Linked DNA regions of Homo sapiens: regions 1, 2, 4, 5, 6 and 7 are each linked to region 3. Evidence: promoter capture Hi-C in 16 types of primary human blood cells and fetal thymus (Javierre and others, 2016). All regions are on one chromosome and are shown on one strand. Each heading gives the region's core, a stretch centred on a gene start or on the middle of the fragment in contact. The rest is flanking DNA. Distances are from core to core; before and after follow the strand shown.

Evidence for each region. Contacts are between HindIII fragments. The CHiCAGO score rates a contact against its expected background, and 5 or more counts as called.
Region 1: a fragment that was not itself captured here is called in contact with the fragment with the promoter of ZFC3H1 in region 3 in 5 of 17 cell types (naive CD8 T cells, total CD8 T cells, fetal thymus and 2 more); the score reaches 11.7 in naive CD8 T cells.
Region 2: a fragment that was not itself captured here is called in contact with the fragment with the promoter of ZFC3H1 in region 3 in 3 of 17 cell types (naive CD4 T cells, total CD8 T cells and naive B cells); the score reaches 7.8 in naive CD4 T cells.
Region 4: a fragment that was not itself captured here is called in contact with the fragment with the promoter of ZFC3H1 in region 3 in 1 of 17 cell types (M0 macrophages); the score reaches 6.8 in M0 macrophages.
Region 5: a contact is called between the fragment with the promoter of LLPH here and the fragment with the promoter of ZFC3H1 in region 3, in 9 of 17 cell types (non-activated CD4 T cells, naive CD8 T cells, total CD4 T cells and 6 more). The highest score is 36.4, in non-activated CD4 T cells.
Region 6: a contact is called between the fragment with the promoter of RASSF3 here and the fragment with the promoter of ZFC3H1 in region 3, in 4 of 17 cell types (naive CD8 T cells, total B cells, activated CD4 T cells and 1 more). The highest score is 9.3, in naive CD8 T cells.
Region 7: a fragment that was not itself captured here is called in contact with the fragment with the promoter of ZFC3H1 in region 3 in 1 of 17 cell types (fetal thymus); the score reaches 5.0 in fetal thymus.

Annotation. Positions count from the first base shown.
Region 1 is chr12:65,162,524-65,166,355 of GRCh38, reverse strand. It overlaps LOC124902953 (a long non-coding RNA gene), which reads left to right. Exons shown (of 2, transcript XR_007063349.1): 2 at 810-1,587. Among named protein-coding and RNA genes, the nearest start is that of LEMD3, 5.1 kb to the left of the region's middle. The HindIII fragment of the contact is 5,889 bases long and covers 1-3,832 here.
Region 2 is chr12:64,760,992-64,764,716 of GRCh38, reverse strand. It overlaps a transcript of TBC1D30 not described here. Among named protein-coding and RNA genes, the nearest start is that of GNS, 3.4 kb to the right of the region's middle. The HindIII fragment of the contact is 4,032 bases long and covers 1-3,699 here.
Region 3 is chr12:71,661,769-71,665,599 of GRCh38, reverse strand. ZFC3H1 (zinc finger C3H1-type containing) reads left to right here and starts at 1,752. Exons shown (of 35, transcript NM_144982.5): 1 at 1,752-2,587. The coding sequence starts at 1,990. THAP2 (THAP domain containing 2) reads right to left here and starts at 1,299. Exons shown (of 3, transcript NM_031435.4): 1 at 1,020-1,299. The coding sequence starts at 1,090. RefSeq lists enhancers at 1,290-1,649, 1,099-1,657, 2,010-2,129. The HindIII fragment of the contact is 1,665 bases long and covers 1,150-2,814 here.
Region 4 is chr12:64,740,724-64,744,647 of GRCh38, reverse strand. It overlaps GNS (glucosamine (N-acetyl)-6-sulfatase), which reads left to right. Exons shown (of 14, transcript NM_002076.4): 6 at 1,340-1,507. Among named protein-coding and RNA genes, the nearest start is that of GNS, 17 kb to the left of the region's middle. The HindIII fragment of the contact is 4,530 bases long and covers 1-3,924 here.
Region 5 is chr12:66,128,747-66,132,776 of GRCh38, reverse strand. LLPH (LLP homolog, long-term synaptic facilitation factor) reads left to right here and starts at 2,027. Exons shown (of 3, transcript NM_032338.4): 1 at 2,027-2,072; 2 at 3,664-3,881. The coding sequence starts at 3,671. LLPH-DT (LLPH divergent transcript) reads right to left here and starts at 2,026. Exons shown (of 2, transcript NR_125724.1): 1 at 1,802-2,026. RefSeq lists enhancers at 2,004-2,113, 2,154-2,303. The HindIII fragment of the contact is 2,232 bases long and covers 1,452-3,683 here.
Region 6 is chr12:64,608,947-64,613,108 of GRCh38, reverse strand. RASSF3 (Ras association domain family member 3) reads right to left here and starts at 2,614. Exons shown (of 5, transcript NM_178169.4): 1 at 2,366-2,614. The coding sequence starts at 2,476. RASSF3-DT (RASSF3 divergent transcript) reads left to right here and starts at 3,643. Exons shown (of 2, transcript NR_187549.1): 1 at 3,643-3,764. RefSeq lists silencers at 2,085-2,154, 2,365-2,884, 3,045-3,114 and enhancers at 3,745-3,804, 4,025-4,074. The HindIII fragment of the contact is 11,544 bases long and covers 151-4,162 here.
Region 7 is chr12:65,826,077-65,829,857 of GRCh38, reverse strand. HMGA2 (high mobility group AT-hook 2) reads right to left here. Exons shown (of 5, transcript NM_003483.6): 2 at 1,771-1,857. It also overlaps the pseudogene RPSAP52. Among named protein-coding and RNA genes, the nearest start is that of HMGA2, 3.5 kb to the right of the region's middle. RefSeq lists an enhancer at 3,648-3,781. The HindIII fragment of the contact is 2,838 bases long and covers 86-2,923 here.

The DNA.
Region 1 (3,832 bases), core at 112-2,611, 6.5 Mb after region 3:
GAACCTTCACTGCCTCAACACTGTCACTGCTCACTTCCAACATTCTCCTCATTTGCTAGTGGATCTTGCTCCTGCTTCCAGACTGGCTAACACTTAAAGTATGAGGCTCTATTCTTGACTGTACCCAGATACTTGACAGGGAGTGCAATCTCAAACTCAGTCCTGCTCCATAACTTCCAAAAATCTGAGGGAAACAATTTTGATGGATTCTGGTCCAACTCTTCTTTGAGGTGCTTTTAATTTCATTTCTGCCTTAAGCCTCCTTATGAGAGACCAATGTAGCTTGGGCCACATTACTAACACGCTGTTCCTCCTACTCTCTTTCCCTACCCACCCTGTTCCCAATAGAATACCTTTCACCATGTCACCCTTTTAGCCTTGACATCAGTTTATATTGAAGAATGATATGAACGCAACATTTTGTTCAAATAAATATATTGCTGAGAGTTCATTTCATTAAAGAATGTCCTTTCTGGTCTCATTATTAGAAATAGTTGTGTTTTTCCAGAGCAACTCATTTGTTGTTGTTTTAATTTTTACTGAAATGACATTCATATAACATAACATTAATTGTTTTATATTATTTTATTTTTGAGACAAAGTCTTGCTCTGTCACCCAGGCTGGAGTGCAGTGGTGCTATTTTATGGCTGAATAATATATTTCATTGCATGAATGTGCCACTTTTTATTTATCCATTCATCCACTGATGAACATTTTGGTTGTTTCCACCTTTGGTAATTGTGAATAATGCTACTATGAACATTGGTGTATAAGTATCTGTTTGAATAGCTGTTTTCGTTTTTTTTAGGTATGTACTTCAAAGTGGAATTGCAGATTATATGGTAATTCTATGTTGAACTTTTTGAGGAATCACAAAAGTTAATTTGTTTTTAACTTTATGGATGTGTTCAAGCAAATAAGGAAGCCATTAGGCCCATGCGGTGCCTCACACCTGTAATCCAAGCACTTTGGGAGGCCGAGGAGGGATCACTTGGGGTTAGAAGTTCAAGACCAGCCTGGCCAACATGGTGAAACACATCTCTACTAAAACTTCAAAAATTAGCTGGGTGTGGTGGCCCGTGCCTGTAATCCCAGCTACTCGGAGGACTGAGGCAGGAGAATCGCTTGAACCCAGGTTGCATGAGCCGAGGTCGCACCACTGCACTCCAGCCTGGGTGACAGAGCAAGACTGAGTCTCAAAAAAAAAAAAACAAGAAGGAGGCCATTAGCCTGAGGTTGTCTCTGCACCTAGAGCTCTTATATAAGCAAACTGAAACTGAAGTGGAAGCAGTTCTTGTAATTAACTTAAAAAAAAACAAAACCCACCAGCTTCTGCCAATCACAAACAGCCAACCAGCTGATTGGATATATAACTAGAGACTTCCCATCAGACCATACCCAAATAAGGCCAATGCATAGCTGTAGCCAATCAGGTAATTTCTTTACTTTGTTTCCATGTTGTGGCAAAACAAACAAACAAACACCTCCCTGCTTTGGCTGCTAAGGCTGAGCCCATAAACTTTTTGGTTTTGATGCTTCCCAATTCATTAATCATTATTTTCTTTAAATAAACTCTGTCAAATTTATTTTGTCTTAAGTTTTCCTTTTAACAGATGGACACTGTTTGGTGACTTGCCATGTTTCTCCCTTTGAGATGACAGCTAAGAAGTTTATACTCAAATTTGCAGTCCAGTCAGAGCAAGTGTATAGGGCTACATAGCCTATATTTTATACATTAACCTTATTGCTGAGTCCATCTAAATTTCTTAACTTTATTTTTGTGTACCTCATTTTAAAATATTTTTATTTTATTTTGGTCAGGCATGGTGGCTGATGCCTGTTATCCCAGCACTTTGGGAGGCGAATCACTTAAGCTCAGGAGTTCAAGACCAGCCTGGACAGTGTAGCAAGACCCCATGTCTACAAAAAGTTAAATAAAATAAAAATTAGACAGGCATGGTGGTGTGCACCAGAGTCCCAACTACTTGGGAGGCTGAAGCAGGAGGATCGCTTGAGCCCAGGAGTTCAAGGTTGCAGGGAGCTGTGATTTCACCACTACACTCCATCCTGGGTGAGAGAGCAAGAGCTATCTCTGAAAAAAAGAAAGAAAGAAAACAAAAACAAAAAATCTTTAAGATGTTTTTAATGTTTACTTTATCTTCCTAATATGCATCTTTTTAGCTGCCTTAAATCATTTAATTTATATAATTTTATATAATTCATCTGACAACCCAACGGGTAGGTTTTCTTAGTCTTCATCTTCTACAGATGAAAAAACTGATAGCTAGCAAAGTTACTTGACTCAAGTCTCGATAGATAAATGAGAAACTGAAACCCAGGACCTCTGAGTCCAAATTCCTTGTTCTTTCTACTATACCATACCAATCTTGAATACCTTTGTTGAGTCATACAGTTATATGGTGGTAAAAAGAAACTTAGTTCCCTCTTTTCTCACCCACCCTAAAGAGGAAGGTGTCTGTAATGGGGTGAAGAAGAGGACAAAGGCTTTTACAATTAACCTGTTTCTTTTCTTTGTTGCTACGTGCAACAACTGGAAAGAAAACTCAAAAATATAAAATTGATTATATCACTTACCATTTTAGCAGATCAAAGCAGTAACACAATATTATATTGATGTTATCACTTCGCTCTGTTGCCCAGGCTGGAGTGCAGTGGCATGATGTCGGCTCACTGCAACTCTGCCTCCTGGGTTCACGCCATTCTCCTGCCTCAGCCTCCTGAGTAGCTGGGATTACAGGCACCTGCCACCACGCCCGGCTAATTTTTTTGTATTCTTACTAGAGACGGGGTTTCACTGTGTTAGCCAGGATGGTCTCAATCTCCTGACCTTGTGATCCGCCCGCCCCGGCCTCTGGGATTACAGGCGTGAGCCACCTTGCCCGGCCGATGCTATCACTTCTCTTAAATACCTCTAGGATGTGTTCACTAGTTTTGATCTACAAAGTTCCTGATGTTTATTTTTCTTTTTAATTGCTCAACACTAACACTGCTTATAAGGAAGAAACCAGAATACAACTGAAAAAACAACACGTTATTGAGAAATGTTGGATAAAATTTTTATCCTATGTTACGGTAAGAATTAGCCAAGAAAGTTTTGTAGTGAGAGCATCTGTTTTATTTTTCTATATATAACTCAGACAGGTGGGGAATTGTCATAGGATTCAAGTAAACAACATATGTATGCGATGATTGATAATTATATTCTACTCTAACTATGCAAGTGAGTGAATTGCCTAAATTGTTAACTAAAAGTCATGGAAAAACATTTCACTTTAATACCTGATGGACAAGGGTCTGAAAATTTGGAGGTTTGGGTTCTATTCCCAGTTCTACAATTGTAGTAATATTTTACATTTTTATTTTGCCTCATAGTCTATAAAACTCTTTTATTGTCTCATTTGATCTTTAACCAGGATAGAAGGCTTTATCATTTGTCCTTTGTGAAAGCTAGCAAGGACTGAAATTCAAAATCACACTAGGTTCTCTGACCCCTAAGTCCACTGTTCTTTCTAACCCACCCTGCTGTCCCATGTACTGCATGAAATGAGTCATTTAATCTTTTGGCTTTCAGTTTCTTCATGTCTAAAATGAGTAAAGCTACTATACCATTTAGATCCCTTCCAAATCCAAAACTTTCTGAGAGCATTGTCTTATAGTACTTATTATTGTACTTTTTATTATAGTCATACGCTTGCTTTATTTTGCCCCTTAGACTCTACATTCCTTGAAATAAGGGTCTATGCCTTTTTGAAATTTGCATCCCTCCCATCTCCTAGCTTATTGTCTTATGCACAGTATTCTATACAAATG
Region 2 (3,725 bases), core at 434-2,933, 6.9 Mb after region 3:
GCCTCAATCTCCCTCAACTTTGATCTCTGTCCACCCAAAGTTAGCAAGTCAACTTTGTCAAGCATGAGATCCTATTTCCTGCTCTCTGGTTCAGAATGTCCCTCCACCAGGCAAAAAGTTGGAGCAATTGTTTGTTTCTCTTTACATGTGGATCACAGTCCTTCACTATTGTCACTTGTATAAAGGCATCTATATTGCCCTGTTTTCTAGTTGTTTTTAGCAAGAGAATTAGTCTGGCACTGTTACTCCATCGTGGCCAGAGATGGAAGTTTTGAGGTTATTAAACGTTAAGTGAAAGTTACACTTCAGAGGTCATGATGAAAAGTACTATTGTTCCTATAATGAAAATTCCACAGGAATTTTTCAACTAATAGCTGAATTGGATGCATTTTTGCTTAAGCTCTTGGAAAAACATGTCAAAATGAAAACACAACTTATTTTACTAAAACAATTTATGGAAAAAATTGAAATAATGAAAAAAATGTTTAAAAAGTGGTAAGTCAAACACATAACCAAACACCAAATACTATTATGTATTCTATTCTGGATATGACAACCACTGATGAGTTGGCAATTATTGGGCACTACTTTCTAACAGGAAAACCTATGAGCAATTTTTAAATATTTTTAGCCAACTGAAAACATCTGAGACATTATTCAACAAAGTAAAACAAGATTGTTATTTTAACCTGTGGTTAAACAGCATTTATAATCAGTCATCTGTTAACACAGCTATTATAATGATTAGGAAAAAGGGCTGCATGCTCTTTAAAAAACAGCTTGGCTAGGCTGGGCATGGTGGCTCACGCCTGTAATCCCAGCACCTTGGGAGGCCAAGGTGGGTGGATCACCTGAGGTCAGGAGTTCAAGACCAGCCTGAGGTCAGGAGTTCGAGACCAGACCAATATGGTGAAACACTGTCTCTACTAAAAATACAAAAATTAGCTGGATGTGGTGGTGTACACCTGTAATCCCAGCTACTTGGGAGGCTGAGGCAGGAGAATCGCTTGAACCTGAGAGGTGGAGGTTGTAGTGAGCCGAGATCATGCCACTGCACTCTAGCCTGGTGACAGAGCAAGACTCTGTCTCAAAAAAAAAAAAAAAAATTAATAGGATACAAAACCAAAGTGATAAAGATGAATGAGAAAGTAAAGAGAAATTATCCTGACATTAAGAAGTAAAGAGTAACCAAAAAAAGTTTAAATCATAAGAAAAACAGTAATTCATTAAGAGGAAGAGAATAATCATTTCACACTCTATACGTATATGAAAACATCATGTTGTACACCTTAAATACACATAATTTTGTTGTCAATTATATCTCAATAAAGCTGGAAAGAGGAAGAGATAAACTGCAAATGAAAGTAATAAATAGGCTATTAAATTGACAACTTGTGAATTATATAAACTCATTGAAAAATATTCAAATTTCTTTCGATTTGATCTCACACTAGCATTGAGGAAGATAACATAAAACTCACGCCTATAATCCCAGCACTTTGGGAGGCTGAGGCGGGTAGATCACCTGAAGTCAGGAGTTCGAGACCAGCCTGGCCAACATGGCGAAACCCCATCTCTACTAAAAATACAAAAATTAGCCGGGCATAGTGACGCATGCCTGTAATCCCAGCTACTCAGGAGGCTGAGGCAGGAGAATTGCTTGAACCTGGGACGTGGAGGTTGCAGTGAGCCAAGAGCGCAGACAGATCAAGACTCCATCTCAAAAAATAAAATAATACAAAATAAAATGCAGAATGTCACGAAATGCCTATGTTAAGAGGATATTTGATAGAGTTTTCTGAAATTTGACAAAAATACTAAACATATATATAAAACCAATAATGAACTGAGGTGAAAAATAATTTTTCTGAATTATCACCAATAAAAGGCAAATACTGATCAAACACACTAGAGAAAAAACTAAATTATCTTTCTATTTTCTTTAGAAAATATTATAAACTAACATCATATGAAGAGATGATTAAAGAGCACATAGCCATATAATGTAAGGGGAAAAAAGTATGAAGAAGTATGCCTGGCAGTTACTTAATAAAAATATGTTACGTTAAATTTTTGCATTATTTGTAATATTTTTCAACTTTTAAAAATTTATAACGTTATATTTTGTTTTAGTCTAAATACATATTCAGTTGTGTACCTACTTTTGTATCTAAAATTGTTATTCTTTTTCTTAAGGAGCCTCCACTCGCCAAATGCACATAAACTTCAGGCCCCACAAAATTTGAATCTGTCCCTGTTATCCACTTTTCTCTCTACCTAATTGGTCTACCCTCACCCATGCTTGTCCTCTTCCAATCTGTTCTTCATGCCACAGTCTAAAGGATCTTCTAAAAGTTCATGTATGATTATATTTATCTTACATTCTTTCAGTAATTTCCAATTAGCCTTACTATAAAAACCCAAGTCCTTAAAATAGGATCTGGGTCCTCACCACCTCTCTCCCTCTGCTCTAACCACACTGGCTTCTTTTAGTTATTGCAATGCACCAGCTCAGAACCTTTGCATATGCTGTACTCTGTGCTTAGGAGACATTCCACCACCCCAATACTCCATTAACAAATTATCTCCTACTCAAACTTCAGATTTCACTCAAAGATCACTTCCTCAGGGCACCTTAGACTAAATCAGCCTCCCACCACCTTAAATGCTCATTGCACCCTTTACTTTTCCTTCATAGCATGTCTATTTGTAATCATATACAAGATACAAGATTAGATTGTCCATCTCTCTGCCATTAGACTGCAAATTCCATGAACGAGGGACAATGTCTCTTCAGCACTAGTGTAGCAGTGTTACCGGAAAGGGGTCCTGATCCAGACATCAAGAAAGGGTTCTTGGATCTCGAGCAAGGAAGAATTCAGGACAAGACCATAGAGTAAAGTGAAAGAAAGTTTATTAAGAAAGTAGAGGAATAAAAGAATGGCTACTCCATAGGCAGAGCAGCCCGAGGGCTACTCGTTGCCCATTTTTATGGTTATTTCTTGATGATATGCTAAACAAGGGATGGATTATTCATGCCTCCCCTTTTTAGACCAGAGAGGGTACCTTCCTGACATTCCCATGGCGTTTGTAAACTGTCATGGCGCTGGGTGGGAATTTAGCAGTGAGGACGACCAGAGGTCACTTTCATCACCATCTTGGTTTTGGTGGGTTTTAGTCGGCTTCTTTACTGCTACCTGTTTCATCAGTAAGGTCTTTATGACATGCATCTTGTATCTTGTATCTTTATGACCTCCTATCTCATCCTGTGACTTAGAATGCATAACCATCTGGGAATGCAGCATAGCAGGCCTCAGGCTTATTTTACTCAGCCCCTTTTCAAGATGGAGTTGCTCTGGTTCAATCGCCTCTGACAGCAGCATCCTGAACAAAGTGGGCAACTAATTACACAATTTCTGGCCTCAAATAGTTTATAATCTAACCTTGAAAAAAATAGAAAAGAAACAATTTTACAATTTGGGGCTTCGATACAGATGAAATAGGTTATTTTTTTGTGCAAGAAAGTCTTCCTGGAAGTCTTGAAACCTGAATACAGAAGGATTAGTTATTCTAACCAGCTTGAAAAATTGGCCTAGGCCAAGGCTGTAACCAAGTATTCTGGTTGTCTAGGAACTGCTCTGACCACACTTCCGGCATAATTGTTTCTTGCAGAAAAACTACTTCAGTTTTTTTAAAGCTTCTTTTGCCTTCTGTAGGCTTACTTA
Region 3 (3,831 bases), core at 503-3,002:
TGTCTTTCTCCACCATTAAATTCTAAATTCCAGGAGGGTTAGAACTTTCTGGATCCTTAGCACAATGTCAGGTAATTAGGAACTCCGTACATATTTGATGGATGAATGAACAAAGCACTACATATGCATGAACTAGTTTAAAAACAGAAACATCACAAGATTTTTTTTAAGTGGCAGCTTTTAATAAAAGTACAGTTCGTAATAGGTAGGGAAAAAGGTCAAGGATATAATTTCTACATACTAACATATACGTTGTTAGGTATATAAAATATATAAAATCAGGACTGGTGTCACTTAACTTTTTAATGTGTCTTTTCTTCGGGCACGTGGCAGGCACTTGCAGAGAAGGTAAACATTTACAGAGTACCTGTTATTTTCCAGGCATTGTTCAAAGTGCTTTCAAGAGTTCTGGTTTGACAGAACTAAAGAATTTTGATTTTTCTTCCAGCAAACAAAAGAAAACCTAGGTTCTTTTTATTACTCTATTCTAGTAAGAACAGAAAGGTTATCTTTTGCACTTTAATTAACATCGCTTAATTCCATGGCTATCAAAGATGACTCAATTCCTCCGCAGAATTACTATGTGACTATTAGAAATCTAAATGCCTCCCATGTCAATTCATCTAGTGAGAATTTCCTAATTTTAACGGGAACACAGCAGGCTTTTACGGTGATTGCTGATTGGGAAGATCTCTTTCTCCCTTACGGCGTCATTCATGTCAAGGCCCGGTCTAACAGAGGAATAAAACAGTAGAAAATTACGATATCCTCCTGTTACTTTTTTTTACTAAGGGGTAATGACCAAACAGTACTTGGATTTCTTTTAGAAAATGAGTAAAGCTTCCCCGAAAGCAGAGAACAATTGGGCAGATTTGAGAAACACAAAGGACATACGATGCTTCCCTGCTACCAGCTGGGAAAGTTATTAGAATTAGCAGAATCCTCCTGTTCCTTCCACACAAGCGATAGCCACAATAGGAACTCCAGTTTCCGTCACCCCCACTCCCTGCCCAGGTTACCTGTGGAAGCTGATGTTAATGTGCTTGTTGTAGGTAGTGGCACAGCCCGCCGCAGCGCAATTGGTCGGCATTTCCCTTTCCCACTCATTCAGCGCCCTTAGGTCTCTACTGAGGCGCTGGCTGCTAAGCTTTCTTCTGGCAGAGGCTGGACAATCGAGGCAGGCGTGCCTTAATCGTGAGAGCTTAGTCGTGAGAGCGGAGTGGGAAGAAGGGGTGTGTATGTGGGGGCGGAGGCGAAGGACGGTCAGCCTTCCCTTTCTCTTTATTAATATGGCCGACTAGAGCCCACAGAACTGGCCCTCCTGGAGCTCTAGTCGCCTTCGCTTGACTTCACCAACATGGCGGACACAACCCGTTCTTTCTCCCCGCCCCCAAGAGGGAGCGGATCTACTGCGTTTCTTTGGCAGCGGTCCTCAGAGCAATTAAAAGGAAGAGGTGTTTTCCCCTCCGATTACTATAAATTACAAGAGTTTTACAATAAAACTCTCTCAAGGCTGCAACAGCAGCTCCACCTACTTCTGCATGCACCCAACTGTACCAAGCCAGACCCTGCGGTGGGTGTGACCCTAGGACCGGAAGAGTAAACCCGAAGAAAGACGAAAGACTACAAATCCTAGTGAGTATCGAGTTGGTCTTATTATCGCGTGAACTGGGAGCCTTTGTTTCCTGCGTGTCGCAGGAAGTGACGTTTCGGGTACAGCCGCTACCAGAGTCCCTTTCTCGCGAGGCGGAAGAACCCCGATCGCTGAGGAGCAAGGGGGCGCTAGGAAAGGGAACTGGGTTGCGACGGTCCGGCGAGAGAGAGCTGGGGTGCTGGGGTGCGGGGAAGTTGGGGAGCAGAGGCCGCTTGGTGTCCGAGTAGGGTAAGACCGCACCGACCCAGTCCGTTAGGAAAGAAGGGAAACGAGGCAATTGTCGGGCGGATCCCCGGACGGAGGGCTAAGGTTGTGTGGAAGGCGCTGCTCCCCGGATGGCGACCGCAGATACTCCGGCCCCGGCCTCCAGTGGCCTCTCGCCGAAGGAAGAAGGGGAGCTTGAAGATGGGGAAATCAGTGACGACGATAATAACAGCCAGATACGGAGTCGGAGCAGCAGCAGCAGCAGCGGCGGCGGGCTGTTACCCTATCCGCGGCGAAGGCCTCCTCACTCGGCCCGGGGCGGTGGATCTGGCGGAGGCGGTGGCTCTTCCTCGTCATCGTCCTCTTCTCAGCAGCAGCTGAGGAATTTCTCACGCTCGCGGCACGCGTCTGAGCGGGGCCACCTCAGGGGACCCAGCAGCTACCGACCCAAAGAACCGTTCCGGTCTCATCCGCCTTCTGTACGGATGCCTTCGAGCTCACTGTCCGAAAGCAGTCCCCGGCCGTCTTTCTGGGAGCGGAGCCACCTCGCCTTGGACCGTTTCCGCTTTCGAGGCAGGCCTTACCGGGGTGGGAGTCGCTGGAGTCGGGGGCGAGGAGTGGGTGAGCGAGGAGGCAAGCCGGGGTGCAGACCTCCTCTGGGAGGAGGAGCAGGATCCGGGTTCAGCAGCAGTCAGAGCTGGCGAGAGCCCTCTCCACCTCGGAAGAGCTGTATCCTTAACGTGGCGGTCGGCGCTGGGTGTGTCACTAAAGTTCCCTTTAGCGTCATTACTAGGTCTGTGAGACGAGTGTAACTTTGAATCATCAGAACCGCTTATTTCTCCCTGTGTCAGTATACTTTAAGTTGTTCTTTGGTAATTCCCCATGTGTCACACTATAGCGTTATTCTTAAGACTGCTTCATTGGGTATATTAACGTGCTGTGGATTGGGTTAAGCTTATGAAATCTAAGACAGTTAAGTCTGATTTGTAATAATACCTTAGAAGCCCAAGTTTCATTAGCATTTGTATTTTTGCTGGTACAGAAACTTTGTGTTTTATATGAAGTTGACTTGGATTGTTAGAGAAAAAATATTCATAAACAGTTTAAGTAATATTGTTGCTTTATCATATTGCAGTTTGACGTTGAAAATTGTAAAGTTTTAATCTGCACAGTCCTGCACTATTTTTGTGATTCTGTTTTTATCTTGATTTATTCCGGTTGCTGCCTTTTAAAGTGGGGGGGGGAGGGGTAAAAAAAAAACAACTCTGGTGTCTTTACCAAGTCTGTTTCAGAGCTTTTTGATTCATTTGATCTTTTTGGAACACTTTACCTCCTTTACGTTTCTATCTGTGTTCACTTTTGCACATTGTGTAACTTCGTGCTGACTAAATGAGGGCCAGAGAGAGAAAGATAAACTTATCAGCATTTTTATTTTAATACGTTAGAGTGGAGGAATGTGTATGCGAGGGTGGAGATTACGGGTAAGTTGAGAAAGGAAATAGTAACATTCCAGATTTTTCCTACTTCTAACCTTATTCTCAGTTTTAAACATTACTGAGTTTACTCAGCATTTATACAGAGGAATCAATCATCCGAAGGTTTCCTGTTTTATAATGGGTTTGTAAAACACTATCTTGACTTAATCTGTGATCATTGCAAAAATTGTTTAAAGACTTTCATTACTGGTTGTAATTCACATAGTGTGATGATTTTTAATTTCGTTATTATATATGAAACTTAAAAGTAATGACAGTTATTTGGAAGACAATCAGAATTACTTTTATAGAACACTTAGGTCCAGAATAGGTCTTTCTCAAATGTCATGATGTAAAAGGGGCAAGGAATGTACATTTAGGTGAGAAACAGCAGCTTCTGATGCTAGTTCCCTGAAAAACCTTACTTCTGCAACCAAAAGTTGGGTTAGGAGTATTTCAGGATTGTTTCGGAGAAAATCATGTAGGCGCCAGGCGTGG
Region 4 (3,924 bases), core at 871-3,370, 6.9 Mb after region 3:
CTCCTCAGGGTGTTTTCTTTGTGTATAAGCCAGGCTCAGATCTAATGCTCTTGAAATTCCAGCAACAAATCCCTTTTCCAAAGGTTAATCTCTTCGACTACAGAGATTACTTTGTAGAGGTTTTACTTTGTAAGTGTACCTACTCTTGACCCCGGTTTTACTCACAAGCTACAAGATGTCAGCTTCACAGGCCCCATTATGAGGATGGAGAGATAGGGATACTGGATTTATTTGGGCATTGGGTATTTACATATAAAAATTACTGAAAGCAGGTGAAATTGGGACTTTCCTATTCTGAGGCGTTTCTAATGACAGTCTTCAATAGTATTATATATTCACTCAATAGTTGAGCACCTAGTGTAGCCAGTGTTCAACAGTAAATGAAGCAAAGTCCCTGATTCTGTGGAAGTTAATTTTATTTACACACACAAACACACACAGTCTTACGTGTTGCATCATTAGCTGGTGATCAGTTCGAGAAATAAGTTAGGGTATGAGGTTACTTAGATAACATTTAAGCAGAAACCTGAAGTAGGTGAGAATGAGCTGTGCAGATCAGGGGGAAGAGTGCTACAGAGTCAGGGAATAGTAAGTAGGAGGGCCCTGAGGCAGGAGTATACCTGGCATATTTGAGAAACCACAAGGAAGCTGACAGGACTGGAGTGAAAGGTGGATGGAGGGATTATAGGAGATAGATACAGTCAGTATCTGTTGAGTTAGTGTTGGGAATACATGAAACTACTTCAGAACAATGAAAAACAACATGTATGTAGCATGCTTTCATTTTCATAAAGTATCTCCTGATAAGCAAAGGCAAAACTTAAGTCCATGTATTAAAACCCTAGTGGAATGTATTTGAATCTAATATTATTCACTTAGCTACTTCAGTGCATAATTTATGACATCTACTTTCTACATATTTTCATAAGGTTAAGGTAACTTAATCTACCTTTCCCACTGTTTTAAGTTGACTGTCTTTTTACATTCTTTAAGGCATCACATGTAGATACCATAATCTCCATTAGTGTAAGTTAATAGTAAAATATCCAAGTTACTGTTTCCTTCTTTGTGGGAGACATGATTTCTAGGTCATAAAAAGTCATCAAGATCTTAATTGCCTTCTTATGTTGGTATGCTTCTCAGTTTTTAAAGTATTGCCTAAAAAACAAATATATTTGTTCCAACAATATGCTTGCAAATGGCTATGACATAAGATCATGTGCTAAGATTGCTTAAAAGCTAGTAAGACCCTGTACTGTCTGCTCACCAGAAGACATTTATCTATTAAATACTCATCTGTTGGGTAAGGTAGGAGATGACAAATCTTTTTATGTGTCAGGCTAATGTCTCCTTGGACTTTCTGGACTACAAGTCCAACTTTGAGCCCTTCTTCATGATGATCGCCACTCCAGCGCCTCATTCGCCTTGGACAGCTGCACCTCAGTACCAGAAGGCTTTCCAGAATGTCTTTGCACCAAGAAACAAGAACTTCAACATCCATGGAACGGTAGCTTCCCCCACCACTTGTATTCAGCCATACTAAGTATCATTAACTATATGGTATACTTGTCAGGAAGCCTTTGAGCCATGTAGTGGGTTTTTCTTCACAATATTTTAAAGGTAATTGCATCTGTCCCTAGTACAACCAATAGTATAAACTTGCATTGCAAGTACAGATAAAGTTCCTGCTACACATCCAGTGAGCAGCTGGAGAGTTGACAGGGAATGGTAAAGAATGCCATCTTTCCCAATTTACAGGAATATCACTCAGGCTCTCCTGGTAACCTCTGTGCTGACTCTCCTCCCTCCTGGCATAGCCGGGACTGCACCAGCCTCCTGGTGGCCCTCACTAGCCTTTGAGGCATGGGAAGAAGGGGTGGCACAGAGCAATATGGTTGGAAAGGGAAGTTGAATGGAAAAATGAACGAGGTGACATGATTAAGAACCACAACAACCCATGTATTTGCCTCACGTGCCAATTACTTATACTTCCCTTGGCTTGGTGTATAGACAGTTCCCTGGTTCAAAGACAGAAGGCCTGCATTGCCTCAGGTTTGTTATCCAGAAATTGTAATTGCTTGTAAGGTTATAGAAAGAATGAGTCATAAAGTCAAACTCAGTACTACCACTTTCTAGCTCAGTACAGACTATGAGCACGATGCTTAACTTCATTTTTTCATGTGAAGTGGGAGTTCTTGATCCCTCATGGAACTACTGTATGAATTCAAGTACATAGAAACAATTAGCATATTGTCTGGCACATTATAGGCATGTGCTTGTTAAATACAGTTTCAAAGCTGAGTGAACTGTGTTTTAAATTAGAGTACTGGCCGGGCGCAGTGGCTCATGCCTGTAATCCCAGCACTTTGGGAGGCCAAGGCGGGCGAATCACGAGGTCAGGAGATTGAGACCATCCTGGCTAACACAGTGAAACCCCATCTCTACTAAAAGTACAAAAAATTAGCCGGGCGTGGTGGTGGACACCTGTACTCCCAGCTACTCGGGAGGCTGAGGCAGGAGAATGGCGTGAACCCGGGAGGCGGAGCTTGCCGTGAGCCGAGATCGCACCACTGCACTCCAGCCTGGGAAACAGTGCAAGATTCCATCAAAATAAAATAAAATAAGATGAGATGAGACAAGATAAGATAAAATAAAATAAAATAAATTAAAAAATAGTAAAATAGGACGATTCTCAATCTGTGTTCCAAAAGAAGTTAATAAAAAGTTCCCATGGTCAAGTAAGTTTGGAAAGTTTGAGTTAAATAAGTCACTCTGCTACAGGACTTCTCAGAGTTATTCATGATCGAATGTGAATTTCTAGCAGGAGAATATGCTATACAGCATTTCTCAAACTTAATAACACTTTGAGGAGCATAGTTTGAGATCTGGTGGCTTAGGGTTTTACGAATAGAGAAGAGAGAATAGTATATAGGGATGTCTTTGTTTAAATGGGAGGGCCCTCCAGATTTAGACTTGAAGTTTTAGGAAATTGCTGTAATAAGATTTTTCCTTAGGATCTAGGGTGACCGATATCTTGGCTAGGCAAAACTTAGAGGAAGGTAGACCAGGTATGGTGGCTTATGCTTGTAATCCCAGCACTTTGGGAGGCTAAGGCAAGAGGATCACCTGAGGCCAGGAGTTCAAGACCAGCCTGGCGAACATGATGAAACCCCATCTCTACTGAAAATACAAAAATTAGACAGGCATGTTGGTGCACGCCTGTAATCCCAGCTACTCAGGTGGCTGAGGCATGAAAATCGCATGAACCCGGGAGGCACAGGTTGCAGTGAGCCGAGATCGTGCCACTGTACTCCAGCTTGGGCTTGGGCTGGAGTGTAGTAGTGCGATCTCGGCTCAATGCAACCTCCGCCTCTGTCTCAAAAAAAGCAACTTAGAGGAAGGTAAAGTTATTTGCCCATTTTCTTTTTTTTTTTTTTTTTTGAGACGGAGTCTCGCTCTGTCGCCCAGGCTGGAGTGCAGTGGCGGGATCTCGGCTCACTGCAAGCTCCGCCTCCCGGGTTCACGCCATTCTCCTGCCTCAGCCTCCCAAGTAGCTGGGACTACAGGCGCCCGCCACTACGCCCTATTTGCCCATTTTCTAATTGTAGTAGACCAAAGGCATAAGATCAGAGTTGTAAATGTAATCTCGCTTTAGCTAGTAGTTTCCCAGTGACATCCTCTAAAATCTCTTAATACTGCCAACAGAGAAGCCAAGACCTTTTATGGTTTGGGAGGTGCTGGGAAGCTGAAGAATGAGAGATTGAGTTAATCTACAGAAATTTCTATTTTAGGAACACAGGAAGGGAGAGAAGTTCTGAAATTGCTTAAACAAGTTCCAGTTAGTTCCTTCTTGCTGAAGTATGAGTGAAACGGTTCTATTTATTATCTACTGTAGTAATCCAGTAGTTTGTTTGACTGTGGTGA
Region 5 (4,030 bases), core at 778-3,277, 5.5 Mb after region 3:
ATTTTTCTAGAGCTTTGTCTTGAAGTCCCCATTATCTAGGGAATGGGCAACATGGGGTCACTATCTGAATCCCAGAAGTCTTCCTGTTCCTTACTGATTGTGCAGATCAGGGATTCCATGGGAGAGGCCTGACTGCAGGGGCCCCACTGACTGTTCTGCATCATGTAGCATGCCTTTTGGATGAGAAAATCAGTCTGCTTCCTGTAAGGTATTCAGGGCCACCCACTGTGCCTCTAGTTCTATATATAGGCTCCTTCCAGCTCTGTGATGAGCCACTGCAATGTTTAGTTGGACCCTTAAGCCTTGTTTGTCCATTAGGAGATAAAGTTTCCCAAAAACAGTAGTTTAGTTTCCTTCATCTTTGCAAATTCAGCATAGTGCCTATAATAGAGTGCATATTCAAAGGCATGAATGAAGGAATGAATTAGACTTTTAAATATACTAAGGCCACTTTTCTAGAACTGCTTTTATATAACTGGTGAGGGGACATAAGTAAAAAGGAGTAAAAGGGTGTTTTACTCAGCTGTTTAAAGCACTTGTAATGCTAAATCATGGCATGGTATTTTAACAACATGACATTTTCATAATAGGTAAATTATTTTTTCTGGTGCCAAGTGCCTATTCAAAAGTCTTGTCCTGGTATGTTAAACAAGATACAGTAAATATGGACTATCAGAATATAAGTTTTCTCTAAAATGCAATGTGCACTTATATTTTTGGGTGAGGTAGCTAACTTCTCATTTGAAAGATGAGGTACAGTATATGGTTAACTTGTAAAACAGAAATTCACTTGCTTTATAAGAACGAAATCTCATTTAAATAAACCAGGTTTCTTAGGCATGCTTCCTTTTTTTATATCAAATGTTCTAGGTTTTTTTCAGCCTCTTTAACCTTGCTATATTCTGAATTCAGTAATTTCCATACTATGCATGGTTTCATAAAGGACACAAATTTAAAGAAAAAAGGTACCCATAGATTGCCTCAGAACCCCTTTTTCTGGCAACCAGCAGGAGTTTACCAGGCCATCATTAAAGACATGTTTTTTGGGTATATGTCGTAAATCTCTAGAAACATTGCTTACAAATAGTACTGTGTAGCTATACTTTTGAAACTATAATGTAAAAAGGGTACCATTTGTTGAACTCTTACAGCATCAATTAGGTTGTATTATGTTCACTTTAGGGACAAGGAAATTCAGGCCCTTATGACATTAATTACTCACCCATATCGTTCACAAGTGTTGGAAGCAAGAGTACAACACAGACCTATATGGTTCCAAAGCCTATGCCAGTAGAAATAGTTGTACAGTAAGTGTTATTCGTGAGCTAAGACAATCGTCCTAGGCTTAGCATTGTGTCTGATACGTAAGTGATCAGACAGGTAAACATTGATAGAACTGAAATCCTTTGATCATTTTACCCTTTAAATTCTTCTCTGGGGTAGGAAAAGCTTGTTTTCTGTTTTTGGTAACCGCTTTGAGTATAACTGACATGCAATAAGTTGCACATATTTAAAGTGTGCAGTTTGATACGGTTTTACATATGTGTACATCTGTGAGGCCATCACCCGAGATGAGAAAATGCACAGGCTGCAAATAAAAATGATCTCAATACGGCCTCTGGAAGAACACCTGATCTAGGCTGACTTGATCTAAGGAAATACATGAGTATCATGTAAACGCTGAGGTCAGATCTAAAGGTCGGCTCGGAGCTCCCTATCTGACAAGTAGGGTCCCCTGGCCAGGTTCACTCCATAGGTTAGTCTCGGGGCTACCCTGCCCACGTCCGGAAAGCGGACCTACCTGGGGCCTAACCTTGACCGGACACCCGTCAGCATTCTCCAAATCCGACTTCTACACCTGTATGGGACGGACCAAGTTTCTAGGTCCGCGATCACACCAATGGCGGAAGCTCGTCAGCGCCCGGGTTCCAAAATCCCGCCTCTCAAGGCTTCTTGAGACATTTTGTCTCCCGGCGTGCAATGCGTCCGCCCCGGGTGGCCTCCGCCCGGAAGACGGAAGTGCAAAGACTTCCGGTCGGCGTGAGCGTGAGGTGTGGGTGTTCGTTTCTCAGGTGAGTTCGGTTCCTCACCGGTCCAGTGACACATGGGACTTGGGGCTTGATTCCGCCACCCTTGGAGAATTTCGTTTCTTGACACTCGCTGGGCTATACTTGAGCTCCAGTCCGGAGATGCAGGCCTTGTTGAGGGCGAGGGTTCCCCTTGCTCTTTTTGGTGGGGGCCCTCCGGCTTCCGAGTGCACTGGATAAAGTGGAGCCCACCCCTGTCGTTCACTCCCGCTGAAGTTAACTTCGGCCCTCAAGGTTGTTTGCCGCCCGCTTTCCTAGCCCCTCGCAAGGGTTGAGTTATGTAGACAAGGGAGCGGAATGACTGTGATTGCCGGCGTTCAAAAAATGTTAGTGGTTCGTTCAACAAGTATGCAAAAAGTGTGCGATTCAGCAGTGAACAAGACCTTTCCCTCTACCTTCGTGGAGTCTACAGTCTGGGGAGAGGGTCGGGGGGCGTGACAGAAAACAATGGTTTCAGGTTGTAACACTTAATAAGCAGGGAAGGGAGCTTACGGAGGTCAGAGGAGTCCTTTCTGAGGTAGCGAATGAAGGAGCAAGCCTTGAGAAGAGCAGTTGCCAGGCATAGGGACAGCAAATATGAAGGCACTGACGTAGAGATAGTTTGGACTCTTTACAGACGTAGTTGGTGCCTGCGGGGATGGGGATGGAGAATGAAATGAAATAGAGTTGAAGGAGGCAGGGGACAGATCACAAATGACCTTGTAGATCTTGAATATATATGAGGGAGGAGGTCTTTAAAGAACTCGAAGAAAGGCAGTGAATGCTTTTTTAAAAGATCACACTGAGCACCTTGTGGAGGATTTAGGGCGGAACTGAGTGGAAAGAAAACAAGAGTAGGAATAGATAAGTTTACAGTCGTTAAGTTGGCTTGAGAGGATGGATAATGAAGATGAGGTGAAGTGTTTATAAAAATCATTTGTAATTTGTAAGCTGTTGCATAAATGTAAGGTGATGACGCTGTTGCATTCTGGGGAAATTAAATTTCTGTATTTTGTAAAGAAATTCAGCCGGGCGCGGTGGCTCAAGCCTGTAATCCCAGCACTTTGGGAGGCCGAGGCGGGCGGATCACAATGTCAGGAGATCGAGACTATCCTGGCTAACACGGTGAAAACCCGTCTCTACTAAAAATACAAAAAATTAGCCAGGCGTGGTGGCGGGCGCCTGTAGTCCCAGCTGCTCGGGAGGCTGAGGCAGGAGAATGGCGTGAACCTGAGAGGTGGAGGTTGCAGTGAGCTGAGATCGCGCCACTGCACTCCAGCCTGGGACACAGAACAAGACTCTGTCTCAAAAAAAAAAAAAGAAAAAAGACATGCAAGGTGCTTTCAGAATTGGTTTGATTTGTAGTTTGCTTATGACCACAAGTTTGATTTGATATCTTGTTATTTAGTGACTGTGTATGTACCATGTTGATCTTCATATAAGTTGCATGTTAAGTCCTAAAAAGTGAACAGATTGAAGAGTTTTACTTTTCACTTGTTTTGTAGAGATACCTGTTGGCCTGGTTTTCTAAGGATTTGCCTGTTTTCTTTTTTATATTAAAGATTTGCTTTTGAATGTGTGTTTTTGTTAACTTCAGGTAAAACATGGCTAAAAGCTTACGGAGTAAGTGGAAAAGAAAGATGCGTGCTGAAAAGAGAAAAAAGAATGCCCCAAAGGAGGCCAGCAGGCTTAAAAGTATTCTCAAACTAGACGGTGATGTTTTAATGAAAGATGTTCAAGAGATAGCAACTGTGGTGGTACCCAAACCCAAACATTGCCAAGAGAAAATGCAATGTGAGGTAAAAGATGAAAAAGGTGAGTGTGCTTCTCCTTTTTCTTTCTCTTTTTTTTTTTTTTTTTTTGAGGCAGGGTCTCCTTCCTCTGTCACCTAGGCTAGAGTGCAGTGGTGTGATTATAGCTTCCTGCAGCCTTGAATTCCTGAGCTGAAGCGGATTCTTCCCACC
Region 6 (4,162 bases), core at 1,365-3,864, 7.1 Mb after region 3:
TTAAAACATTCATATCACTTCTTTAAATAAACCACAATGCTCACTAAAATTCGTAGTTTAGAACACTTTCTCTGCCTGGCAAATAACTTCTACAACTCAGCACCTTACATGTGTTATGTTAGAAGGGAAAAATATGCAGGCAATAAAGCTTCAAATACACATATGAAGCTCTTCAACCACGAACTATGTCTTCCTGTCCTGATTTCCAACACGATATTTCAAAATACATATTAATGTTAGACTAATTCTAAATGCTAAATAATACTACCCTGAGTATAATATATATGCTAGATGATACATAAATGATTGCATACAACATAGAAACAATAAATGTGCCGGGGGCGGTGGCTCACATCTGTAATCCCTGCACTTTGGGAGGCCAAGGCGGGCAGATTACCTGAGGCCAGGAGTTCGAGACCAGCCTGGCCAACATGGTTAAATCCCATCTCTACTAAAAATACAAAAATGAGCCAGATGTGGTGGTGCATGCCTGTAATCTCAGCTACTCGGGAAGCTGAGGCAAGGGAATCGCTTGAACCAGGGAAGCTGAGGTTGCAGTGAGATCACACGACTGCACTCCAGCCTGGGTAACACAGTGAGACTCCATCTCAAAAAAAAAAAAAAAAAAAGAAACGCTAAATGCATATAAACCTAGAAAAAAACTGATGTCTTTACTCTTTAAAGCACTAAAGGATTCTCATACAATTCAAACCTGAATAGTTTGGCCCTTGTGGCATCTCACCCCTGGAGAATCCAAGAACCAGCCAGTTTTCAGGAGATTAGCAGACACCTCTGGAATAAACTTCAAACTACCATGAGTTCCTTTTCATGTCAAGTGGTGAAAGCAACATAAATGAAAGGAGAAAATGCAAAACGGAGAAGGGGAAGAGAGAGGCCAAGAAAGAGAAAGCAAAAATGGAAAAAGCATAAGCAAATGCAATTTTTCTACAACCCAGGGAGGGTGGGCATGGGGGAGGAGAGGGCGTTTCCAACTTCCAAACTTCACAGCAATCTCATGCTCTCAGAACACACTCTGCTGAAAGTAAGAGATCCCACTCAAAGTGACTCGTAAATAGTGGGGCCTTAAGCCTTAGAAACAATACAAGACGGACAACTATGGCACCGGGACTTGAGATTAACTGCGGTTACTGAATAAGGGCACTTGACTTCAGCTTACCCTTCACCGTCTCCTCTCCTCCTCCTGGTTTGGGACTTAAGAGCCTGAAAAGACTAGAACTTCCGAATTTTAGAAAGAATTTTACTTCAGAAAGTGGCTAAACTTAAGAGGTCTGGCAAGACCACCCTGACAGATTGCACCCTCCCACATCCACCAAAAGAAGTTATCATCCGGCCCCTGAACGATTCTTCTTGCTTCTAGTCTCTAGGTCTCAGTCCGGTATTAATAGAAATGTTTGGCGAACGCCTGTTTTCTAAAAGCAACAAATTTGTGCCATTACAATCTTCTGTAATCTGATGTGAGCGTGGCCGGGTTGGCCCGGCTCCCCTGGTGCGGCTCCTAGTGCCAGGAGGCCGCGGGCTCTAGCACCGGGCTCCTCAGTCCAGCCGACGTGCCCCGTTTCGGGAAGGCCTCCCAAAAAACACGGCTACAGCTGGCGAAACTGGCACAAGTTCCCTTCCCATCTTTTCCCAACTCGTGCTTCCCACGGCATGCTGCCTCCAAAAAAGGAAGAAACCGGCGAAAAGGTTAGCTGTCGCTGGCTAGTATTTAGCATAGGAGCTTGTTTGCAAAACATCTGGGCACCAAAAAACCTAGCTTTACAGAAAACGCACAACCCTGAGTCCCGCAACGGAGATTTAGTGAGAGCCTATGGTGGCGAGGCCCACGGTGCCCTTGGACCCCCACTCCACCAGGTCGCCCGGGCCAGGAAGAGGGGAGGTCAGGTCACCCGGCCACCCCTAGCTATTACACGTTGACCCAAGCCACTCTGGGGGCCACAGATGAGTAAGCTGACTAACAGGAAGGACAGGCGCGCGAACCCGACCGTCGACCCAGCGGGGACGCGAAGGGGAAACCTGGGGGAGTGGCCCGGGGACGCCTGCTGGCTCCGGGGCTGCTCCCCGCAGGCGGCAGCCCGAGGCGGAGCTGCAGAGGCCATCTGGCGCGGAAGGCAGAAGCCGGCCCTCAGCCTCCCCGCCCTTCCTCCGCCTTCCCTCGCCTACACGCACAAGCTCCAGGCACGTTCCCGGGACCCGAAAAGGCAGAAGCCACTTCTCGGCCCGCTCCTCCTTCCCGGCGAGCATCCCCCGAGCGCCCCGCAGAGACACGTGGAGGCAGGGGGCGCGGGCTGGCGGGTTCCCCGGAACTCTGGGGCGCGGGCTGCAGCGCCCGCCGCGCGCCACTCACTTGTTGGCCGGAGCGGGGCTTGCCCTGGGGCGCTCTCCTGAAGAAGGAGGTCCTGGCGGTGAAGAAGAAGTCCTCGGCGTCCTCCTCCAGGCTGCTGTAGCCGCTGCTCATGCTGCCGGTCCCGTCGCGCGCGGGCGGCCTCCCCGGGGCGCAGGCGGCCAGGGAGGGGGTGCGGCGCCCGCCAGCCCCGCGAGGTTCCCGGCGCGCAGCCCCGGGCAGTCCTTATGCAGCTGCGGCCGCCGCTCAATCAGGCTCTCCCGGCCCCTCCTGCCGCCTCCCCGCCAGGCTCCAGGCGCGGCTCGGCCCCGGTGCGCCCGCGACCCCGCCTCCCTGGGCCCCGCCCCGGACGGGCGACCGGCCGAGCCCCACCCCGCGCGGCCGCGACCCTCCCCGCCCGCCCGCAGGTGGGGGGAGCCCGGCCCGCCCCTTCCAGGCGCGCGGGTTTCTCCCGACAGCGTCGCGGAACCCGGAAAGCCGGGCGCTAGGGCTGCGTCTGCTGGGGCTGTGCTCGGGTCGCTTCCTCAACCTCCCGGAAACTGCAAATTCCTCTGCGAGCCGTCCGCCCGCCCCCAGCCTCGCTGGCTCGAGTTTCGGAGAGGGCGGGAGCAGAGCGGGGAACTTTCTCTGCGTCCACTCCCTGCTCGCCCCCGCACCAGGGTCCTGTAGGGGTGGGTGGGGGTTGCCCGGCCGAGGGACCCCCCAGGTCCCACGGCTTCCTGCAGCCGCAACGCCCAGTCCTGAACCCCAGCAGCTCGCCCCTCCAGGAGGATTTCAAGTTGGCAGAGATGGGTGGGGAGGTCAAAAACTGGGTTGAGTTTATTCGAATGAAAACATCCTTTCTGGTCATTCATTTGAGCTTCGGTCTTACCCTTTTCCCCTTCTTTCTAGCGAGGGCTCACTTCCAAATAAGATCGTTATCTTAGGCGCACTCAGTGCAACTGAAAGGTGAACTAGTTCTATAGTTACAGAACAATCGAGTGCTTATCAATTAAATGTGCTTTGTAAATGTCCCCGCCACAATCAGCCTTCCACGGTCACCCACAAGGCATGGTTTAAGTGGTGGGGATAAGGAGATCAGGGAATTCCATCCATCCACGTACAAAAAAAGTTTCCATGTTTTCTAAAACTCTTCAGTCAGCTAATCCTCTTAAAGCCACCAGTGGGTAACAGTCTTTTACACCTTGGTGTTACTGCACTGATTTAAATAATACTAATTTCAAGATCTTGACTGAAAGGTTTTTTTGAAGCTGCAAGCCCTGCTATAGTTAGCGAGCTTCAGAAGAGGTTTCATTAGGAGGGGAAGAGAGACGTTAGAAAAGAGAAAATGTCCATCCATCATAGCCAAACTAGCCAAACTCTCTTACATTATCTCCTTCAATCCTCCGAGCAACTCTGCAAGGTACGTAGTGCTATTTTATGCCGGTTTTACACCTAGAGCAGCAGCTGAGGCTTAAAGAAAGGAAAGTGGCTGTAGGAGGCAGTACTCGGACCGTTCTGCTTTGCGTTCTGTTGATCTGAACGTGGTCACATACCCTACTGGGTTCTCTGCTTGGTATCGGTCAGCCGTGCTCTTTTGTGGACTACAGGAGGAAGAGTTGGACCCGAAATGACGGGAAGGAGAGAAGAATTGACTCATGAGTCATCCTACTGTCCCTAGGCTGAAAGAAGGCTTGCAAACCTGCTCCACCTTCGGGCTTACACATCCATCTTGTAAACTAGTATATATTACCCCACGTGATTCACAACAACTCCAGAAGGAGGGCCTTTGAGTTACAGCCCATTTTAAAGGTCCTACAA
Region 7 (3,781 bases), core at 255-2,754, 5.8 Mb after region 3:
TAAAAATTTTGCTTTAGGTGGTAAACTAGGCACTAGCTTCAGCTTCCCTTTTCTCAATACAAATTTTGTTAGTCAGTGGTAAGCTTTTTAAAATGAAGCGGAGGCGATGGGAGCGTTTCTATCTATTCATCCAAAAAACATGAAATATAGTAAAATATGGGAGACAATTCATTTTCCTTTTTAGTATTAAATTTCAAATTACTTATTTATGGTGAAATTTAAAGATTTCTTCCTAGGAGATATTATCATGATGTGTTTTTCAGAGGAATTATACCACAGCTTAAATGCGTGTCAGCTATCTAACAAGATATTCATTTGTGCATCTCCTTAGAATAAAAGTAAATTAGGTAAACTCCACACTTACACAACATAGAAAAACTCCTTGGTAAAATCAGTCCATTTTAGTTAATTTATAAATGAGATAAAATGAAACAAATGTAAAGTATTCATATTAAAAATACCAGATTATATATTGCCATTTTTAAATAACAAGGTTACTTAGAGCTATTTTAAAGTTTATTGATTAAATAAGAAACAATTAAATCTAAACTCTAAGAAGCAATTAAATTTAAATATATTAAAAATATGCTCCTCAACTCTGTTCAAAACTGTTAAAACAGACAAGAACTCAGAGTAACTTCCTAAATAACTTTATATGTACCATTAGTTGCTATGGCAGTTTACATACATTACAGTTAGTACCCACAGTCACAAAGAAAATCACACAAAACATTAATCCCCAAACGATGAGCATATAGTCCTTTCTAACAAATACTGTACATGGAGTACCCAAAACCGGTGAAAAGGTATATCCAAATTTAGTTCTGATTTTTGAAACTTTGTTCTCAATTACTACACAAACCTACAAATACAACGCAGAAACTTTTTTTTCCAATTTATTTATAAAGTCAAAAAAGTGACTGGTACTTCTCTATACATGCATTAACCCTGACATAGTTCCTCTTTGCTAGCTTAAACACAGCCAACCTGAAGTTATCTTAAACTGCAAGTTTAAACTTATTAAGATAAACACTGAATATTACACTTAACTGGGTTCCATTCTGCCCAAAAAGAGATATTAAATGAGCCAAATACTTGTTTTAAAAAGTCTCATTGTCCAATTCAGACATTTCTATGTCACTTGATGAAAAGGCATTTTGAGATTATGATATACTATACTGCAGGTTTATTGTAAAACAAACAGTATACTTTATTATCACAATTAAAGCTGCAAAATTCATGGAATTTTTCCACTATCCCACAACTAGATTTACTTCTAATTATCGTCTATTTGGCAAAGTACTTTAATAGGGGGATTTGGTTTGCAGTAGCCATGTAATAAGCACAAAGTAAATCAATCTTTATCATTTTTCAGAGGAAATTGCAAAAACTTTACCACCAGGCAAAATCTATAGTTTTGATTTGTTTTTAACTATTTACAACTGGTGCAAATATTAATTGTGTCATTTTCATCCCGCCCCCCCCGCAACCCCTTCCTTCCTCACTTCTACCCGTTTTAAGGTTCAAATTATTTGGTGGCTGTTTGTTTAAAAACAACACTGTTAAGTATCTTCATAAACTTTTTATGCTGAGCATCTGCTTACAAAAAAGGTTAACTCGCATCTAACTAATGTTAAATGTAAGAAATGAGTCTTGTGTTACCCAGTTGGGACAAATTCCTGGCTGCGGAGTTAGAATGGGAAAGTTACAGGCAGGCTCCTGTAGTCAGTCATTGATGAAGTTAGGAGAGCTTGACTTGAGAAATCTCACCTTTTGAGCTGCTTTAGAGGGACTCTTGTTTTTGCTGCCTTTGGGTCTTCCCCTGGGTCTCTTAGGAGAGGGCTCACCGGTTGGTTCCTAATTGTGAGGGAAAAAAAAATGCTGTTGTGGCAAGAATGTCTGAAAGAAATTGACCCTGACTCTTTAGCTATATTTTCTGCATGTGCTGCTCAAAAGAGCTGTTGGAACACGTTCAGTTCAAGCATAAATGGATGATGATGGTACAGAGTTTACAGAAAGGGGAAATAACTATACTTTTAATGCAAGGGTTCAAAGAGGAAACTCTATTTTGTATATGAAAACTAGATTCTACTTCAAACCTAAAATGGTAACAAAGACTGAAGAGGCATGTTCTAGAAAGAAAGTCATATACTTTTAAGGTGTAAAGTTTACAGGGCTATGCATTTGGCAACTCATAGGAATAATAGGCATTTTAAACGAACACCACTCTGCATTATACTAGCATTTCAAACAACAGAAATACGAAGCTACCATCACAGATATTTCAACAATCTTCCATATTGAAAAGGTGGCCTTTAATCATCTTTGTATACCTGCCTTCTAGGTGGATTATGATTCAACTGACACATTTTGAGTGAAATACTGGAGCAATTATTCAAGTTCTTCAGTTCAAAATAACTCCATTCCCCCTAAAATTTCCAAATAATTATAGTAAATCTATGGTGGGAGGTTTTGCTTGAATCATCTAGTTAATTGCTTCAATTCTCCACTTCCTTTTGGAGATGCAGGCATGGCCTCCAGTCTAAATTTAAATATCTTTTGATAAAAATAAACATATTTTCTTCAAAACTTTCTTTTGAGAAAACTCTTATGGGGGTGGAGTGGAGAAAACTAAAAGGAGGTAAAAGCGAGGAGGAATGGAGTGTCTGGGAATGAGAAATGGAAGCAATCACTTGGTTTAGCAAAACTTTAAATGGCTCCTATGCCAAGTAGTAAATACTCAAGTGGTTAAGAGAATGCGATGATTAATATTCCAGATCCCAAATATTTATCCAGTGAATCATCTATTCACATTTCATTCAGATTCGGTGATTAAGTGAGACTAATTAACTTAAAACCCATGAACGTCCTCAATGAAAATTCGCATCCCATTTAGAGAATTCGGGAAGGTTCCCTGCAAGCTTCTGTGGGACCACTAGCACCAGTGGGCACATCGAGAGCAAACACATCGGAGACAAATTTTTCTTTCTTTGTGAACTCTGCCTTAACTCAAAGGTAAAGTATCCAATCACCTCCAGACCCCATTGTAATTTCTTTTGGATTTTTTTTTTTTTTTTGGAGGGGGGGCAATTAGTGAGTTAGAACTGGGTGGCGGGTGGGAAACAAGTGGGGGAGGGCAGAGACTTCCTGGGAGGTGTAAAACAGGATTCAAATGCGGTGTAAAGTGTCGCTTGGGCAGAGCGGGAAAACTCAGGGGCCTCTAGATCGGCTTGTTTCCTTTGATGATTTCAAAAAGGTACAACTCTCAATTTTTCTAAAATGCACTGGCAAGCAAACATTGTTCAGTTTCCCCACCTTGCTCTCGGACAACTTTGGGACTCTAGGATTATTTTCTAATCGGCGTGTTTGCCATGAAGGAAGCGATTTAAGACTAAGCAGAGAGCAAGTTTTAAAGCCCGAGAAAGTGGAGTTTAAATGTTCTCAATAGACATATCCCGCTCCAACTCTGCCCGCCGCGGCTTGGAAATTACAGCGAACAAAACCCCCAGCCCTGCGCGCTGAGCGCAGCTCTGCAAGCGCCGGCTGCACGCTTAATTGGTTGCATCCGCAGACAAAACCCTCCACTCCGCAGGGTCCCGGGCGCCCCTCGATCGTCCCCTACTCAACCCCCGGCCACTGGCCTTGGAGAAGAGCATTTAATGGCTGCAGCTCTGAGGCGCGAGATCCAGGGGCAAAAGGGGGACCGGGCCCCTGACAAGGAAGCGACCCTGGCTACCCTGCACTCTCTTGGACACTCCTTTCAACGCGCCCTTAGCTGGGC